Linked DNA regions of Homo sapiens: regions 1 and 3 are each linked to region 2. Evidence: promoter capture Hi-C in 16 types of primary human blood cells and fetal thymus (Javierre and others, 2016). All regions are on one chromosome and are shown on one strand. The core of a region is centred on a gene start or on the middle of the fragment in contact, and the rest is flanking DNA. Distances in the headings are between cores, read along the strand shown.

The links. The method cuts DNA at HindIII sites, captures the fragments that hold promoters and counts their contacts. A CHiCAGO score of 5 or more calls a contact.
Region 1: a fragment that was not itself captured here is called in contact with the fragment with the promoter of LINC03033 in region 2 in 1 of 17 cell types (naive B cells); the score reaches 5.4 in naive B cells.
Region 3: a fragment that was not itself captured here is called in contact with the fragment with the promoter of LINC03033 in region 2 in 1 of 17 cell types (naive B cells); the score reaches 5.3 in naive B cells.

The regions. Positions count from the first base shown.
Region 1 is chr14:62,112,411-62,115,413 of GRCh38, reverse strand. It overlaps SYT16 (synaptotagmin 16), which reads right to left. Exons shown (of 8, transcript NM_001367656.1): 8 at 2,864-3,003. Among named protein-coding and RNA genes, the nearest start is that of LINC00644, 26 kb to the left of the region's middle. The HindIII fragment of the contact is 569 bases long and covers 1,205-1,773 here.
Region 2 is chr14:61,569,100-61,571,799 of GRCh38, reverse strand. It overlaps LINC03033 (long intergenic non-protein coding RNA 3033), which reads right to left and starts at 1,260. Exons shown (of 3, transcript NR_039985.1): 1 at 1,040-1,260. It overlaps LINC01303 (long intergenic non-protein coding RNA 1303), which reads left to right and starts at 1,147. Exons shown (of 5, transcript NR_110416.1): 1 at 1,147-1,314; 2 at 2,123-2,256. RefSeq lists a silencer at 1,970-2,162 and an enhancer at 2,554-2,700. The HindIII fragment of the contact is 753 bases long and covers 841-1,593 here.
Region 3 is chr14:62,093,563-62,096,465 of GRCh38, reverse strand. All of the region lies in intron 7 of SYT16 (synaptotagmin 16), which reads right to left. Among named protein-coding and RNA genes, the nearest start is that of LINC00644, 45 kb to the left of the region's middle. The HindIII fragment of the contact is 1,594 bases long and covers 513-2,106 here.

The DNA of each region.
Region 1 (3,003 bases), core at 240-2,739, 540 kb before region 2:
CCAATTCACCCTACCAATCCTATTTCACAATATTCATTACACCAGATTTTAAGCTAGTTCACCTGGTTAACACTGTGTCCCAACTGTCTAGCACACAGTGCCTGGTACATCAAAGGTAACCAAGAACGCCTGGGAATAGATGAATCCACCCTGCCTGGTTTGAGGTCCCTGTTTTCACCTTAGCTACGTAGCTATCAGTTCATGAACTTACACTAACCTTGAAGGCAGCCACTAGTTGCTGTCTTTACAGTTACTCAAGCAGAAGAAGGGAGCTGGGGGAAAGCCTGTTATACAGAAAATAGTTTTCTTCCCTTAATGAGACATTGTGTTTATAAAGTGACTTTTTTTTTTCCTTTTCAAAACATCTTATAAAGGTCACTACCTGCATTTTAATAGCATTGGGAAATACTCACCTAAAGTCATTTATATATTTTCCTAATTCTTGTCTTTCCACACCCTCTAAAGTGGTTGTGAGACCTCCGAGATGAACGGTTTCATTTTTCCTTAAAATACTCCTCTACCTCAGGTAAAAGCAGCCTCCATAACAACACGCTATATCTTATGGAGAAAAAAATGTATTTGGGAGCAGCTAGGTAATTTGACCAGTATGGATGGTATGTCTAGTGTTATACTTTATCTGAATGGACTAGGAAATCTTTACTATTGTCAGTTTAAATCAACAAATAATTGCCAAGTCCCCTCCTCCTCTGGGACTACCTCAAGATATAACAGATGTTGGAAGACACGAAAGAAAGGTCAAGGTAATCCAAGATCACAGGATTCCTTGATGGCATAACTGGAATTAGAAAACAGGTATGATTTTAATCTCGACTGTGTTATTTATGTCTGCATATATAATTGGATAAATTCTGCAATTCTCCTTGTAAGATTAGAATCTTTCACTAAACAATTTTGGATTTTAAAATACATATTAAAATTCCATACTACCTACCTTAGAATCTATCCAAATTCTAATCTTCTCACCACTCAATCTTGTCCCTCCTCGACATGACCATAGATATAATGCCAATCCTGTCTCCTACTTCTTATCTGTTTACTGAAAAGAATCAGATGTTTTATTATGTAGTGGAATGCACATTAAAATTTATCAGCACTGTGAAATGTCACCCAAGCTTCCCCTTGAGCCATATTTCTGAATCTTTCTGGAGCAACCCCAGAGAAACTGTAAGGAGACTATGAAGCTTACAATACATATAATGTGATTTGACTTATTTGACTTATCAATAAAATGCTACACAGCACAATTTTTTAATTACTACAAAAGACAAAAAAAAAAAAAAGAACCAAAGAACCAGAGTCATAGATGGCTGTCTCAATTATTTTAACATTTCAGCATGGGTAAGCCTGTGTTGAAGCAATGCCACAAGATAGCAATCATTTGCCAAGTTTAAGCTCTCCAGATGACATACTCTAAGATTCATATATGGAAAAATGTTTCTTCTGCATTATTCTTCTTTTGCTCATATATTTGCTTTAATGTTTTCAGTATGCCATATATGTATGTACCTACTAGTGCACATACACATGTAGAAATGGTCAATCTTGCTCAGCCTACTAGCTCAAAACTCTTTGCCCTGTGGCTTTGGAAATGTGAACTCAAATAGTCTTTATTTGCAACAATGCTCCTTCAAGTGTTGAAATGGTCTAAGTCTAAGGTGACTATGGATGTAAAAGTACAAGTAGAACCCTTAATCAGCCCATAGTGTTCTAGTGCTGTCATGGGTTAGAAAGAACTTAAGCAACCAATAAGCTTTTCATAAATAGTCACCAGTACCACAACATTTCAAATAATTTTTTTAAAAATGTAAGTATGCCATAACTTAACTGACTTAACAAGAGTCTTACCAATACTGTTTCATTTTCTCGGGCATATAAATAAACTACAATTCCCAGCCTTCTTAAATATAGGTGGACCCATTGGACTAGTTCTGGCCAACGGAGTTTGGGCAGAAGTGAAGAGCAGCACCTCTAAGCCTGTCCCCTAAAACACATCATTTGACCCTCATGGCTTTTCTTCCTCCATTTGCATGGCAATACATTCCTTCAAAGTCCATAAGGACTCTGAAAGGCCAAATCACAAAAGGAGCCTCAATCCCTGAGATACTGCTAGAAAGAAAACTGAATGGCCAAAAACATCCCAGATGAGGGAGAAATAAACCTTTCTTATGTGAGTCAACTGACATTTTGGGTTATTACAACAGGTAACATTACCTCAACTAATACAGAATTGTAAAATTGTTAAAAATTGTCACTGAAACATCTATAGAATTGTATTTCTCTATGCTTTTCTGTTTGGGGGAAGTCAGCCATGTTTTGAGTGCTATGTAGGTGTCCGAATATAATAACTCAGCTCCCTCTACTTCTAGCTTGTTGCATCTGAGCCTTGTTAACTTTTGAGAACTGGGTATTCATAGAGGGGAAAGTGTTCTGGACAAGAGCTTCTCTAATGAGGAATTACATACACTTTTGTACATGAACACCTACACTTTGCAGTTTGCCTTCTCAGAATCCCCTTTAGATGCAATTTAATTAATTCAGGTGATCCTTACATTTATATAGCTCCTTACCTGATGTTCTTCAAGTCAGCATTTGAACTGGTATATGTTGATTTGTATATGTGTTCACCATAAAAGCCTACAGCACCCTGAAACCAAATAAACTGTATGGATCATACATGTAATGCTTATAGTTCTAAAATATATGTCTGCAGTTGGTATGGTTTTGAAGTTAATGGTTTTTGTATATACTAAAATAAGCAGTATCATTCAGGCCCATAAAATTTGCATGTTGATGCTGCAAAACTGTATCTTTTTTTAACATAAAAAATTTTCACACATGTACATATAAGCCATCTGCTAAAACTTTATTGATAAAACCAGTAGCAGCAGTTTTACAAAATTGGAATGATTTTCAGTTTTCATGAACTATCATGAATTCAGTTGCAGCAGACATTTTATACAAACTGGGGCTAATGCTTCTTCT
Region 2 (2,700 bases), core at 11-2,510:
AGCGTGATGGTATGGTAGACTACTCCAGAACAGTGAATTTCCCCTGCATTAAGGATGAGATCCCTATGAATTGGGATCATTCAGGAAGTCTTCTTGGAGAAGAAAAGTTTGAGCATATGGGGAAAAAAAGTTGGATTGGCAAAGAGCTGAGCTGTCAGTAGCTGGGTCCTTAGTAAGTAGGCTGCATGGAGCTGGGAGTTATGCTAAAGGAGTTGTAATTTGGGATGCCTCTAATTAACCATTTTGGGAAAAATATAATAAATCCCTTTGTAGCATCTATAATAAACTGCCCAATATCTATGTGGTGGGGAAAAAGTTTTATTCTACGTTTCACGTGGATGGTGATAACACTAGGTAATCTCAGCATCTTTCTTATTCTCTTGCTAATCCAGGATTCTAAGTAATAATCACTTTGTTCTACAACCTGAATCTAGCCCTTGTACTGTGCAGTTTTTTTCTACACTTATTTTTCCTGTTGTCTGAATCAATCTCCATGGAAGCATAAGTTTTACTGAGTTTCAACCAGCTGTGTCCACCGAGGTAAAGATGGTAAAAATAAAAGGCACAGGGCATATATACCACAGCAGCAGTTACTTCCCACAAGGAACCAGAGATTGGAAGTGAAGCTAAAACATTTTCAGCTACGATAGCATCTCTTTCAAGGTGAGCCATTTCCCCAGGGAGAGTTTCCAGCTCTTAGCAAAGGCAGAACAATAAAACATCAAGGATGTCTTTCTAAGGCTGCAAACAGAATAGCCAATACCTTGAAGCTGATCTGCTTCAGAGTCCTTTAAAAGCCAGGACAGCAACAAAGTGCCCACATTACATTTTCTACAAGCTTGCTAAGCATCTCTTTTCCTAAACCACAAAACCCGAGACATTTCTACAGAACAGGCAGAAAGGGAAGTCCTGGGAGATCAGGGCCCTGTCTCAGCAGGCATCACTCCAGCCTGTCTTTTCCCGAGTGGTTTTCTGCACTTCTCTTCCATCTTTTCCCCTCTGTCCCACACTGGAAGTCACTAGTCTGTGCCCTCCTTACCTCCCATGGTTTCTGCACCTTCATTTCCAAAGGCAAGTGAAAACAGTGCCAGGCTGCGCACATGGGTTACTCCAGGGACTTCTCTTCCCGTTTCCCCTAAAGCATTTGACAGTTAGATCTTGGAACTGAGTCCAGCAGCACTGAGGTCAGAGAGATGGCTAAAGCTAAAAGCAAACTGGATGCTGTTCAGGAGGTTCTCCTTTGTCATTTTTATCTCCAAATAGAAGACCTCTGTTTTCCCAGAAGATTAAATAGTAGAAAAGAAGTAGCCCAAGGTGGGTGACTCTGCAAACAGGTGGGTGAGGTCTCTAGTTGAGTGAGGGGGTGTCTGTGGGTTGTGGGTTCTTCTTATGAGCAGAGCTTGGAGGAATTTGTTCTATTTGTTGTGGTTTTCCCAGGGGGAAGTCGGGGGTGGCTGGGACTCTAATGATCATTATCAGAAGACTTTGGATTAGGCCTCTGAAACTTTAAGATGTGGATCCTCTCGCAATCATGTTAAAATGCAGATCTCCTTTCAATAGGTCTGGGACAGAGCCTGGCTTTTCTATAAAGCTTCTGGTGATGGGATGTCGCTGGTTCTCAGCCACAATTTGAGTAGCAAGAGGTTAGCTTTTCTACTTACTGCCTTCATATCCCCAGTTGGGCTATGTCGTTTTATCAAAACAATGTGGTAAGAGTGAGCGCCAATTACTAGCCTGTTGAATCATCCATTGTTAGAGCTGTTTCTTTGAGGTACATTTAAGAGGCCCCTCCCTGTGGTTCCCCATTGCACAAGAAGCCCATTTGCCAGGCAATACCTTGGGCAAGCAAGCCACTGTGCAAAATTGCATTGGCTCTTCCTGCTGCCAGCCAGGCGGCTGCTGGTTGACGTTGGAGTTGTACAGTTTATGTGATAGTGATGACAGCGCTGGCTCTGAAGGGTACTGAAGATTTTGAAGGGGTACTTCGCTGCAGCAGCTTCACCTCTCACTTTTGTTTACCCACCCCCGAGGCTTGTGGGAGAGAAGGATCAGGCAGAGCTCTGCACGTGCCATGCCAGGGGTGGAGGAATTATATTTTTATTTTTTGCTTTCTCTGCTACAGGACATACCATGCCTTTTACAGATATTTATAGGACAATTTCCCTCCTGAGAGTGCCCAAGCATGGGGGATGGTGAGGAAGATGACTGAAGGAGAAAGCAGGAAAAGGGGGTGTCTGCATGTATGAGGATTGGAAGGTGGGGAAAACCCTTCGTGTTTGGTTCAGCCTTCAAGAAAGAGGAGGGGTTGACTAGATTACAGATGTTAAACCAGGGGTCTGTGGTTCAAACCAGCAACTCTCTGCCCTTGTAAGCTGTATCTGGCTGGTGTGTTAATTTGTCTAGGGTAAGAGCCCCTAGGTTTCAACAGATTGTCCTAGAGTCAATGATACACAAAAGGTTAATCAGCCTCATTTCCAATCAGGATCATCTGCAAGTCCCTCCCAGAGCAGATATTTGGAGCACTAGGCTTCTAGAAGCAGCAGACATCAAGTTCGGGCCATGGGATTAGGGTGGACAGGGCAGCCACTTGGAATCATTTTCTACCAGAGGCAGAAGAGGCTCAGCTAGCAACAGCCCCATTTTACAGAGCAGAAGCCGAGCTGCAGTCAATTCAGTGATTCCTCCTAAAGTAGGGAGTCA
Region 3 (2,903 bases), core at 60-2,559, 520 kb before region 2:
TTCTGTTAATGAACATTTAATTGCTTATAATTACCAAAAATTAAAAAGATTTCAGTGAACGTTTTTCTCTATTTTGCATTATATCAATATTCAAAAATTTCTCTAGGATATACCTAGAAGTGAATGACTGTGCTCTTTACAAATTCTAGACACAAAATCTTTGCCAGTTGTATTAATTGCTACTACCTTCTACCTGCCTTTCAGCTTCATTTATAGTCAGTTGCAGTACAAATGTTTTAAATTTTTGTGGAGTCAGGTTTATTGGTGTCTTCTTTTAAGTTGATGCTTTTTAAAAGAAACCCTACCCAAACTCAATAGTCTCCCATATTATCTTCTGAATCTTAAGATCTTGTTTTTCACACTTGATCTTTAATACAGCTGTAATTGAGCTTTGCATGTGGTGTGAGGTAGGGATCTAAATTTTGTATATGGGAAGGATTATTCATTAAATAATCCATTATCTCCCCACTAATTTCTAATACCATGTCTGTCAAATATCAAGTTTCCAAGCTTCAGTGTCTTTCCCTAAGTCTGACAATATTTATTATAATCATTTTATAACATGTCTTGATATCTGCTAGGGATAATCCCTCTACCATCTTTTTAAAAGCTATTTTAGTTATTCTACTCTCTTGCTTGGTTTAATTGGCTCTTGCATATGAATTTTAGAATGAGTTTGCCAAGCTCTGTAAAAAACAAAACAAGATAAAAAAACAAACTAAAACAAAAATACTAAGAAACACTTGGGATTCTACTTGGTATTGTACTGGACATATAATGTGGAAAAAAAACTGTTGTTTTTACAATATGGAATATTCTTGCTAATGAACATAGTATATATAGATATGTGTGTGTTTGTGTGTGTGTGTATATAGTTTCTGTTTGTGTCTTTCATAAAGTTCTGTTGTTTTTCTATAATTTTCATATTCATCTTTTATTATTTTTTGGTATCGTAGATATTTTGTTCCTATTATAAATAGTAACATTTTAAAGCTCCACTTTCTGATTGTTGCTGATGTATTATAACACAACTGATTTTATATAAGAAATATTACTTTATAGATTTTCATTTATCTTTAATGTTGATAATAAGATTTTCTACAAATAATGAATGGCAGCTTCATTTCTTCCTTTCAATCTTTAAATGTTTATTTATTTTTCTTATTATACTTAACTGCCTCAAGTTTCCAGTCTAATATTAAACAAAACTACTGGTGGGAATCCTTATTTTGCTCTTGACTATAAAGGGATTTGAGGATTAAGAATTGGTATAGATTTCCTTAAAATATCCACTGTCAAGTTGAGCAAGTTTCTTTCTGTGCCACATTATTAGTTATTGATATTTACTACGATATCCACCATTCTAAGATCTTTCCTGGGTGAAAGATATAAACCCTTAAAATGACATTCCCCTAGTCTCTTATCAGTAAGGTTCCACTAAAGAAAGCTATGGCAAGAGACAGGAAAGTGGAAGGAGAGAGAGCCCCAGTACTCTAGAACCGGTTGCAGGCATGAGTAGGCATTAGAAGATGACAATGGAAAATTTTTGCCCATAGTGATCATTAGATGAGAATGGAAAAATTTTGCCCATATTGATCAAAGATCCCTATAAAAAAATCGCCTGTCCTGTGTGCAAACAGTTCAGAGCCTATTGACATCTCTCCTGTAATGCCTTATACTCCTGAACTTCCTGAAAACAGTCTTCCTGATCTTTACTACCTTGTCTTCCAATGTTTAAATCCCATAATAACTTCTGATCAAACATACCTAGAATATTTGCTATTTTCCTGAAAATATGTGACTGATACAGTAATTACTAACCTGAACTGGAACGTTGCTATCATAAAAATAAAATAAAATAAGATTGGGGATTGGTCTAGAAGTTGGGTATCAGGTAATGAATAAACTAATATCAGAGGATATAACAGCGAAGATCCATAATCCATATTATGAGATGGTAACACTTCCACCTGCTATAACTTAGAATAAAGAACATGTGCCTAATGAGTTTGTTGCTCTAAAAAAAGAAATTGAAAAATGGAATGTTAGAAGTATGTATTCAGTACTACTGGCTGCATTTAGGGGGAAGAGGGGAAAAGTTAAGCTTGGGAAAGAACTGACCAGTATGCAAGAAAAAAGAGAAAATACAGAAATTCAGCCCTGGCTGGAAGAGTTGATTGATTCCGGATCTCTGAAGAAAGAGATTTTAAAAGGCTTTGAGCCACAAAGGCCCAGTAAACTTTCTCAGGTGAATAATGTGACATTTAATTCAGGTCAAATATCAAATTAACAGTGTGGTCTTTACACCAGAATTGAATTATCTGAGCCATGTGACTGAGTTCTGAAAAATGGAATATGAGAAGTGATAAATGTCACCTTCAATCATGGTTATATTCAACCACTCCCACCCAAGCAATAAATCTCCCATGCTGTCTCTTCCCTTTCCATGCCAACAATGGAGGTCACATTTTGAATATCATCACCTCAGTAAACGGGGAGTGCCTGTATGTCTGAGTTACAGCTTAGAGAACAGTCACATAACTACTTTGGACTGTAATGCAAAGGAGAAATAAGCTTTTGCTGTGTGAAGCCCCTGAGTCAGCAGGGTTTAATCATTACATCACAGCCTAGTCTATATTAATACATCTTCTATTACACATCTGCTAAGATTTTTGTCAGTAATGAAGAGTGCATTTTGCCAAAAGCAACTTTTTGCATCTATTGAGATAATCGTAATTTTTTCAAAAATTTTATTTTTTAATCAAAAGCTTCTATTTGCATCTACTGAGATTATCATAAGGCTTTCTCGTAAGCCAGTTAATATGGTAAATTACACTAGCAGATTTTGCTAATATTAAATCATTCTTGCATTCCTGAGCTAAGCCCAATTCATTGGTCATTAA